Regions from separate parts of the Homo sapiens genome. Here region 2 is linked to region 1. Evidence: promoter capture Hi-C in human tissues and cell types (Jung and others, 2019). All regions are on one chromosome and are shown on one strand. Each heading gives the region's core, a stretch centred on a gene start or on the middle of the fragment in contact. The rest is flanking DNA. Distances are from core to core; before and after follow the strand shown. Region 1 holds the start of FOXQ1 (forkhead box Q1). Region 2 overlaps FOXF2-DT (FOXF2 divergent transcript).

Region 1 (5,302 bases), core at 1,095-3,594:
GCACAGTGAAGCATCGGTCAATAGCAAGAAATCACTGAAGAGCCTCTGACATGTCTCTCACACTCAGTCATACCTGGAAATGCCACATACGTACACGGATGGGGGCCCAGAAACCCCAAACAGTAGTCATATCATTTATAGTGTGGAAAGGTTCCCTGATGTACTTAGGGGGGAGGGAAGGGACATAAATCAATGGAAGTTGCGACAAAAACAGTAGAAATAAGACGAAGCCTGGGCGTTAAAGAAAGACAAAAAAAGTCCTTATGAAGGGAAGGAGGAGCAGGCTTCGCAAAGAAACTAAAACAAGAATTGCTTTGGTCCTCTGTAAAGTTATAAAACACAAAGGAAAATATCCTGGACTAAGTTTAAATACTCCTGTCAAAATGCTTTAGCTTTAAGGCACGTTTGATGGAGATTTTAAAAATTCATCTTCCTCTGGATTCAAAGTGCAAAGTCCGCGCGCGGGCCCGCGTTCCCGCCTCCCCGACGGCGCGCACTCGGCGTTCCCGGGCCCCGCGGCGCTACTCAGGCTAGGAGCGTCTCCACCGGGTACGGCAGGTGCGGGCCAGGGCGGCGGACTGAGGCCGCCTGCAGGGCTGCGGGCAGCCGCAGGGGGCAGTACAGGTGCGCGCCGCCGGCCGCCGGGCCTCGGAGTGGCTTGGCGGGGGCCGCCGCCGGGAGAGGTGCAAGCAGGAGGGGCGGCGCGGTCGGTGGCACCTCGGCCTCGCGCGCGCCCAGCCGCGCCGGCTCGCCCGCGCCGTACGCGCAGAGCGGCAGCAGGGCCCTGCAGGGCGCCGCGGGGAGGAGCGCGGGGAACGCGGGCAGCGGCGGGCAGGGCGCGGCGCCCCACTGAAGCGTCGTCCCGGGGGCCGTGTCCCTGAGGCGGCGGCTGCGGAAGGGCTTGCGCAGGATGCTGTCGATGGCGAAGGAGCTGGAGAACTTGCCCGCGGGGCTGGCGCGCTCCTCCTGGCGGGCGGGCGAGCGCATGCGGGGCGAGGCCGGGGCGGCGGGCGCGGGCGGCGGGGCGGCGGGGAGGCCCGGGGCCTCCTCGGGCCGCAGCCCGGGCGCGGGGACCGGCGCGCGGTGGCTGAGGCGCTTGCGGCGGCGGCGGAAGACCCCGTCGGCGAAGGTGTACTCGCTGTTGGGGTTGAGCATCCAGTAGTTGTCCTTGCCCCAGGGCCGCGAGGGGTCGCGCAGCACCTTGACGAAGCAGTCGTTGAGCGAAAGGTTGTGGCGCACGGAGTTGCGCCAGCCCGTGTAGCTGCCGCGGAAAAAGGGGAACTTGCCCATGAGGTACTCGTTGATCTCCGCCAGCGTCAAGCGCCCGCCCGCCGAGTCGCGGATGGCCATGGCGATGAGCGCGATGTACGAGTAGGGGGGCTTGGGCCGCCGCGTATATGGCTTGCTGCGTGCACCCTCGCCGCTCCCCGCGCCGCCCGCGCCTGGCCCCGCCGCCCCGGCCTCCGCGCCCTCCGCCACCACCGCTGCAGCAGCTGCTGCCGGGATCGCCTCCTCCGCGCCCGGCCCGCCTCCCGCACTCTGTTCGCCGTCGCCCTGCGTATCTCTGGCGCCGCCGCCCGCGGCCGGGCTGTTGGCCGCGCAGTCCCCATCTGAGCCCAGGGAGTCGTCTCCCGCCGCCGACAGCGGGGACGGCGCGTCGCTGCCGCCCGCGCCCTCCAGGTCACTGCCCTGCTTGTCCCCGTGGGCCGCGCGAGGGACGAACACCTCCAACTTCATGCCCGCGCACCCAGTCCCTCCCCGGCGTCGTACCCTCTTCCTTCGCGCAGCCTAGAGAAGCTGGTGCCAGGGAAGGGGATGGCGATCCGGGGCCGGGGATCTTCGCCTTTTTCTCCCGGGAGCTCTACCCTGGTCTTCCGAGATAGTCACTTTTCCGGAGTCCTCTTCCGCTGGGCTTTTTCTCTGGAGGGGCTGCAAGTGTTGGGTGGACTATGGGGCGGAGAGGGAGGAGTTGGGTGGGTGTCGCCTTCGGTTCGACGTTGAGACTTTGGGGTGAGTGTGTGCAGGGGCCGCGGTTCCACCCTCGGGTGCCCGAGCACGCCGGGCTTAGAAGGCTTTCCTGCCGGAGAGAAGCAGCATGCGCATCTGCTGCTCGTTAAAGAGCCCAGGAGGGGTTCTTCACTGGCGGTCCCAGGTCCCGCGCGGGCGTCTTCGGGGCACGGAAATGGTGCCGGATGATGTGCGTGCCACCGTGGGGGAAGGTCCGGCGCCTTCAGCCTTGAGCACCCGCGGAGGCGAGTCCCCGAGGCCGCTGCGCCCGCAGCCGCCTTCCCGCTCCCAGCCTCCGGGGCAGCATCTCCCCGCTGGCCTGCCGCGGCTGCGTCTCGCCTCCACCTTCGGGCCGGCCCAATATAACCCTGCGGCGGCTCCGCGGGGGCGGGGCCTGAGCGCGGACGGCAAGGGGTGGGGGAACGAGGTGGCCGAGGTGGTGGCGGCTCCCCAGTTCCCCAGCTCCCCAACGGGCGCGCACCAGGCGGAGGCCACACTGCAGCGCGGCGGCAAAGTCGCTGGCGCAGGTTGTTTGTTTTGGGTCGGCCGGCCCCGCCTTCCTCCTCCCGCCAATGGGGAGCGCGCGCGCCGCTGTGGGTTTGCGCGTGTCTGTGAGTGTGCGTGTGTGCGCGCGCGGGGCCGCTCCGCCAGCCGGCTCCTCCGTTCAGGTGTGGGCCCCAGCCCCGGGCAGCCCGCGAGGGCTCCCTGCGCCCTGGAGTTCGGGGACGCAGTTTAGGCGAGTGCGCCTGGTTGGGGGGACACGCCACAGTTCCCCTAGGGGGACACCTGAAGGGACTGGGTCTAGGGGAGCAGGGACTTTGCTCGGGCCTAAGCTGCACGCGGCGTATGTGCTTCTGTAGTAGTGAAAACGATGCTGCTTACGAAAGCAAACCCCTGTCGTCACTGCAGAGGTGCTGAACAGAAATTGCGCAGGACACTTGCAGTGACCTCTTTCGGGAGCCTTGTGCTGTGCCCCTTCCTATGAGCTCCTTTCAAGGACCATCTTGTCTTTTCCTCTTGTTTTAATGAATGCACTCCTGGGCTTGAAATTGTATGCGCCTTTTTGGATGACCTTTACTCTTGCTCACTAAATGGGCTCCGACTTTCACTTTTCTTTGTCTTACTTTACCTTTTTCTTTACCTGGCTGGTGACTCCTGCGGGAGGACAGCAGCGTCCTCCTCTTCCCCTGGGGCGGCTGTGTCTGGCGCAGGGTGCTGGGCTGTGCCTGCACTTGTGTCCCTGCGGAAGCCTCAGATGCCGCCGAGCTCCGCCGCTTGGTTCCCGGGATCTGACAGTCAACAGGAACGACGGAGAGGGCGTGTTCCCGGGGGCGGGGGCAAGAACAAACCGGTTCACGGCCATTTCTTTCCAATATTCCTTTGGGACTTTTGCTGTGACCTCACTGGCACCAGTGTCGGACAATCTCGAAAGGGGGGACCGTTCCTCACCCCAGGGCGCCCGGGGCGTGATCCCCACGCGGCGTCATTAGTCCAGGGAGCGGGCGCCTCGGCCCCGGGAAGGTGCACTTCCAGCCCGCTGCCCTGCCACGCCGAGTTTCCTCCTTTTTCCTGCCTTTGTTGCACAAAAAGCGACGGAGCCGCTAGTAGGTGGGAGCTCACCTTTGATGTTTATTTTATTACTTTCCACCATTTGTGTTGAAAACGTACACAATCCTCTCTTATCTTTATTCAGGGAGTTTTGAAGCCATTCACAATGGGGCGGGCAACATGACAGCCCCAGCCACAGCTCTGTTATTTTTGTATTTGGGGAAGGATCGCGTTCGGAGATTAGACTGACTTTATTAAGTATGCGCCTCGGGAGCCAGGTGGGGAATGGCTGCTTTTTGGGAGATGAGCCTTTCTGGAGGGGTCTGCTCAGCTCTAGCCTTGGAGTTGATGGTTCACTAGACCTGGAGAGGGAAGTGGGATGAGACAAATATGTATATCTATATATATATAGCGAGGTAAAGAGGCTTGGATTTGGCCAGGGATAAAAGGCGTTCGTAATGAATGTTTTTCTCTCTTGAACTCTGGGGTTGGGCAGGGCAGGAGGGCACATGACTATTTGATGGGGAAGGTAAAGCCAAGGAGGCTTGAGGTGGGACCCGTGGTCGCTACAGAGTCCAAGGGAGGCCTCTTCGAGACTCCAGGGCCAAGGTGTCCTGCCACCAAGGAATGCTGGTCGCCGCCAGGGAAGGTGGCTCACCCCACCTCCATGTCCCACTTTCCCCCTTTCTTACCCAACCTCCTCCCCTCCCCAGCTGCAGGGGATCCTCTCCTTACCCTGATTTCATTTGGGGCAAGGGGGGCAAGGACCTGCCCCACCTTTTATGTCTATCCTGTGGGCTGCTGTCTGCAAGTTTGGAGCCTGAAAAGGTTGGGGGGCAAGAGAGTGAGTTGGAGGTGGGTGAATTCTCAGCTGGAAACCCTTTGCTATTTTTAGAGTGACTTAGGGAATGGGCAGGTGAGAGGTTGCTTGCAGCCACCTAAGTGGACTTTGAGAAGGAAGATGGCATGGCAGGCCGTGGACCACCTGGATAGGATTAAAACAAAACAAAAACAAGCAAACAAACAAAAAAAAACCCTACCTCAGCTAGAATGGAAGCTCCACTAGAGCAGGGTTTTTTTCTTTTTTTCTTCATGACTGTATTCCCCTATCCTTGACACATGAATGTGCCATTTGCTGAGGATAACATGATTGTCTTCTGTTAAAACCAGAAATAACACTGCTTTTTCCATTTGTGGTTGATGTCGGTATCAATTTTAGCTGTTGTTTTACAGCGGGGAAATCATTCACCTTTTGCAGCTATCAGAGAAACCGAGAATGTATGGAGCAGGGCGTGTCTATCCACAACACCCTCAAGGCTGAATACAGTTGGGGAGACCAGACGCTGCCAGACGTCACATGCATTTTTTTAAAGTTTCCCAGAAGTGCTTGGATATTTCTGCCCCTTAATTCCCATTCCTTGGGGAGTACATTGATGGGTTAATAAAAAATGCCTGCAGGTGGAGCTTGACCAAACACTTGTAGGTAAGAAACACCTATTAGCTTATTTTCCCCCTTGCCCTTTAATTTCCATGGAGATAAGTGAATAAACTATGGCAAAAGATAAGTTCATATTTCCATGATCGTATGACCTCCCTGAAGTGGTGATTTTAGGAAGATAGTGCATGTATCTCTGGGCACAAAGTAACTTAATTAACTGTGGAAACTATCTGCAAATTTAACGCTTTCCATAATTTGATAGTGCTTCACTGACCCAGTTCCTAAACACTAATCTTGGGAAGAAAATAA
Region 2 (5,302 bases), core at 1,766-4,265, 52 kb before region 1:
TCAGATCTCTCTCGTGTAAAAAGCTTCTTTAAAAAACTCTTAGGTTTTCCTGTTTTGATTTTGAGAGAACACTGCTTCTTCAGGCTTGTTATTCCAAGGCCTAGATCTGGCTTCCTTACTTTGGTATAGATATTAATACCTTGATGAAAGTTTGCTAATTTCCTTATTTAATTTTATTTATTTTTAGGGACGGTATCCCTCTATCACCCAGGCTGGAGTGCAGTGGCACGATCCTAGCTCACCTCAGCCTCAACCTCCTAGGCTCAAGTGATTCTCCTGCCTCAGCCTCATGAGTAGCTGGGGACTCCAAGTGTGCACAACCCTGCCCAGATAATCTTTAATTTTTTTTTTGTAGAGATGGGGGCCTTACTATGCTGCCCAGGCTGGTCTTGAATTCCTGGCCTCAAGTGATCCCTCTGTCTTGGCCTCTGAAAGTACTAGGGTTACAGGCGTAAGCCACCATGCTTTGCTATTTTCCTTATTTTAAAAAAATTCCTCTGTCCCTGGGACAAAGAGAGAAGTAAAACAAACAAACAAGTCAAAGTTTTTGTGCTTTTCTAGGTCATCACAATTTGAATGTGGAAACAAAATTCTGAAATACTTTTTGTTTTGAATGAAATTCAGAATGGAGGGGCATCTTGCATCTGCCTTTTCATACAGCCAAAGGAGGGTTCTAGGAAAAGTCCACACATGCTTGATTTTTGCCTCCGTTTTTATCTGGATCTTTGCCTTCTGTGGTCTGCACTATGAGCTATGACAGTCTTCTTTCTCTGAGGTGTCTCCTTACTTGGGAAGGGCCTGCAAGCTCCATAATAGTTTTCTTTGCATGATTTCCTGCAGTGGTTGAGCATGTAGCAAACAATCTCGATGCTCCCCTATGCTTTTGAGGTGAAATTTAACTCGAGGTTCGTCTGTGTCCTGGAGACCGGTTGCTCTGCGTTAGCTGTGTGTGTGGCATTCCCTGCACTTCAGAGCCACGGTGCTGAGCTGTCTTCCATAGTGACTTACATAGCACAGGTAAATTACCCAACAGGACTTCAGAACCAGAGCAGACCCATGAAGGCAGGGATTTGAAATACCTGGGCTTTTGACTTAGTTCCTGAGATAGGAAAGCCTTCTTTTTCCTTTGCGAGTTTCTTTTCCCTTTTACTTTTTCCAAGTTTCATTGTTGCCGAATAGGTTATCTGTAGGTCAGTGGGTTTACGGGTTGTTTGGATTTCCTAAAATTGTGTTTTTCCCTAAATGTGGCACGAGAGATTGTTTGCAGGCTGCTGTGTGAATGGGATGGCCTACTGTGGCCGACACAATGCTGCTATTTCTGTTTTTCTCTGTTGCCCCCAGTGAAGGTATTTTAAGGCTCCCGGTATTTAAGAAGACTAAAACCAGCAGAGAAAAATCCTGGACTTCTTCAGTTTCCTGCCAATTCTGCAGAGTTCAGAACAACTTTTATTTATTTATTTTTTAAAGGAATTTTTTCCATGACATTCAAGAAGCCAGCTACATTTTGCAATACTTTTCTTTCTGATGAATAATTTTCCAGATACAGCGTGCGGATGAATTTTGGTTTAGATACGCAGGCCGTATAACTCCAGATGCAAATGCAGATGTTTATGAGTTCATGGAATGGAAGATATAAATGTCCTGACTTTGCTGTATGCCTTGAGAAGCATCCCTTTTTCTATTTAGAGAGGGAGAGAAAAAAAACCAACAACCCAGATTTGCTTAGTTTCCTGCTTTAAACATTTACGCTTTAAAGGAGCTTATTTACATAATAAATGATATTGCTCGAGAGCATATGTGGGGAAATTTTGACCAAAAACTCTTTTCCTTTAATCTGCACATGCCGTGGTTTGTGGAAGTGTGTGTTCACATGCAGAATCACTTATCAGTATGGAAGGCTTGAGGCCATGGACAGCACAGTTTAAGATAAACTTGACTCAGCAACATGGGAAAGTATTATTCATTCTGAAAATCATACTTCAAAAGTTTATTTAGTTCTCTTACCTTAACAGAGGTAAAGACATTAAGTAAATTCGTAGAATTATTTTGAGTTACCACTCAGAAAATAATTTAAAACTTAATAACTGCATCGTGTAACAGTCTTTGGATCCAATTATTTGGGATACTTTGTATGAGAATAAATGACTGTTTCTTGCTATAAAATATAGAATGGAGTCACTTGAATAGGATTCTTAGGTTGTAATATTTTTATGTTTGTGATGCTGATGGATCTACAAGTGAACATTCATAAAACTTTCATCTTTTCAACAAATATTTATGGAACCATTGCTACATGCCAGAAATATTTGCCAAGGCCTGTTGATTCATGGGTGAACAAGGCTGATAATGTTTGCTGCCCAGTCTTCCCTGAGAAAATGTAAGAGAACACTGAAGGATACAGGAAAGATAATGTTAGGGGTTGGATTTGGCCTCCCCAGAGCTCATATGTTGAAGCCCTAACCTTCAGGACCTCAGGATGTGACGGTATTTAGAGATAGAGTCTTAAAAGAGGCAATTAAGTTAAAATGAGGCCTTTGGGTGAGCCCTAATCCAATTTAGACGCTGTCCTTAAAAGGAGAAGAAATGAGGACACAGACACACTAAGAGGGAAGGTCATTTGAAGACACAGAGAGAAGACGCCATCTGCAAGCCAAGGAGAGGAGCACCAGGAGAAACCAACCCTGCCCACCTCTTGGTATCAGACTTCCAGCCTCCAGGACTGTGAGAGGATAAATGCTTGTTGTCTAAGCCCCCAGTGTCTGATATTTGTTACGGAAGCCGGAGCACACGAATCCAGATAGAAAGCTGGCTAATAAGATAGAAAGAGGAATACTGCTTAAGGAGACTGGGTGGAATGACTGCTCACTGTCCTATGCCAATAAATTGCAGAATTTTAAAAAAGTATGTGTAGAGTAAATGCTAATGCTTGATGACTGTGCCTATAATAAGTGACGCAGACATGTTACTACTGCTTTTCTGCTATGCCTGTTAATATTAGTATTTGCAAAACTCCTGAAGCATGGGGATGACGCCATCTGCTGGACCGTATCCTGCTCCCACGCGTGAGGGCAGAGGGTACAGGAGGTGCTTGATATTGATTCTACACTAAATCATTCTTAAAACTTCAGGAGTCTGTCGTGAGCCATGGGAAGTTGTTTTCAAGTAAGGGGAAATGGAAGTTTTGTATTATGAACACCGTCCACATCATCTCTTTTATCTGGGAAGAAGCTGAGGTTCTGCTTTGCAGTCACATTTTTGTCCATCGTAAGTGGATAAATGTGGTTTGCATCATTCAGTGCCTTGGGAATGTCTTACGGGATATTTCTGGAATGGGCAAAGTTCAGCACAGTCTGGAGCCAAAATGTCCCCATTATTGAGCCAATATAGTTCAAATGTTTATGACCCATCTCCAGAATGGCGTGCACATGTGAAGGGTTGTCAGTGAGGTGGAACATGTCCCCAGGAACGGAGAGAAAGCTGCGGAGAAGCAAGCGTGCCATGTGGCTGCCTCGAATGTCCTTTCTGGTTTGGAAGCCTGCAGCTGCAGAAGGCCTGTGAGTGTGGAGGAGGCTCTTCCTGGTAAAAACGCACCTCCCAACCCTGGTTGGAAGCCCCAAGGCTGTGGGAAAGCCCAGGCTCCCTGGGCCTTGATTTTTTTTTTTTTTTTTCTTCCTGGATTCTGCCTTCAAGATCAAAGGAAGTCATCTAGAGTAGTGTTCTCATGATGTGGTGTGTGGATCCCTGGGGTCTCCATGACCCTCTCAGGGGTCTGTGAGGTTGAAACTATTTCATAATAATACTAAGACAGTATTTCCTCTTTTCACCATCACTCTCACAAGAGAGTGCCCTAGGGTTTTCCAGAGGCTACGATACATGGCGTGTGAAGATATTGCACAATGGCTGGTGAAACATGGGCTTGTGTGTTCTTATGTCCTCCAGAACCTTCTCAGTTAGTAGGGTTGATGTGTTCGGGGCACATTTTCAGAGATGAACTCAGCTTGTTCTTAGTTCCTCCACTGCGTTCTTGCTGTCTGTCTTCCCTGTGTCTACTATCATGTTTATAAATTGTTATATTGAAGTCCCAACAGTTTCTCTGCAACTGTGCAGAAATATGACAAAAAGTAAGTACGGTTTTTGTCTTGTTTCAATAGCATTCTCCTATTTTTTCTGAACCCTTTTATAAATTTTATAATTCTGTCTAAAACTGTTACAATTCTAGAATCTAATATCTTATTCTAAAATAAAATGAAATTTATTTGTAACACGTTTTGTTATATTTAAGGATGGGTCATGGACTTTCCAAAGGGACATTAGAAGATTTGCTTTCTCAGCGTGCAGCATCTCATGTGTAAAGGCGCCGAAAAGGACAGAATTGCTGTATCAGAGCATTCTCTCAGTCATGAAAGGAGAAGTCTAATCCCAAGAAACTGTGTGAAATTGTAAATGGCAACGAAAATGTGATGGTCATCAGCTCTATAGACGTTAGGAATTTACCTTATGGTGTCTTACGCAACAGAAAAAATTCCAAATTGTATTATGGTGCTAGTTAAATTGTGACATTATTTTTGGACAAAACATTCAGAGTTTAAGGAAAAAGGGAGTTGAGTATTTTAAACATAGACTTGATGAGCTCCTTAAAAACCCCAAAATTGTTACAGCTTTCCAAACTAGACATGAAAGAACCGCGGAAGCATCTTACGGAGTAAGTTATCATGTTCATAGGCTGGGTAAGAACACAACAGCCGAGCGAAGAGTGAAGCCCTGTAGAGCTGGCTTTGCTGAATGTCTACTGGCCGCAAAATCAGCAAAGAAGTCATGGCACTGCCACTGTCCATCAATACTATGGCCTGTTGAATGAAAGCCTCAGCTGCAAACATGAAGACTGTATTCCTATCTTGTCTGCACAATTGTACTTTTGGCTTATAAATGGAGGCTGGACTTACTGCTTATCTTTTTTTTTTTAGATGGGGTTTCACCATATTGGTCAAGCTGGTCTTGAACTCCTGACCTCAGGTGATCCACCGACTTCGGCATCCCAAAATGTTGAGATTACAGGTGTGAGCCGCTGCGTCCAGCCAAATTTCCTTCTGTTTTTTTTTTTTTATTATACTTTTAAGTTCTAGGGTACATGTGCACAACATGCAGGTTTGTTACATATGTATACATGTGCCATGTTGGTGTGCTGCACCCATTAACTCGTCATTGACATTAGGTATATCTCCTAATGCTATCCCTCCCCCCTCCCCCCACCCACGACAGGCCCCAGTGTGTGATGTTCCCCACCCTGTGTCCAAGTGTTCTC

What was found. The method cuts DNA at HindIII sites, captures the fragments that hold promoters and counts their contacts. A contact is called where the count stands out against the background at its distance.
Region 2: a contact is called between a fragment that was not itself captured here and the fragment with the promoter of FOXQ1 in region 1, in 1 of the 25 tissues and cell types used here (lymphoblastoid cells).

What each region holds. Positions count from the first base shown.
Region 1 is chr6:1,309,140-1,314,441 of GRCh38, reverse strand. FOXQ1 (forkhead box Q1) reads right to left here and starts at 2,344. Exons shown (of 1, transcript NM_033260.4): 1 at 1-2,344. The coding sequence starts at 1,737. The coding sequence ends at 526. RefSeq lists an enhancer at 1,174-1,890. The HindIII fragment of the contact is 14,044 bases long and covers 1-3,820 here.
Region 2 is chr6:1,362,059-1,367,360 of GRCh38, reverse strand. The region is part of intron 1 of FOXF2-DT (FOXF2 divergent transcript); the gene reads left to right. Among named protein-coding and RNA genes, the nearest start is that of FOXF2-DT, 25 kb to the left of the region's middle. The HindIII fragment of the contact is 7,838 bases long and covers 1-5,302 here.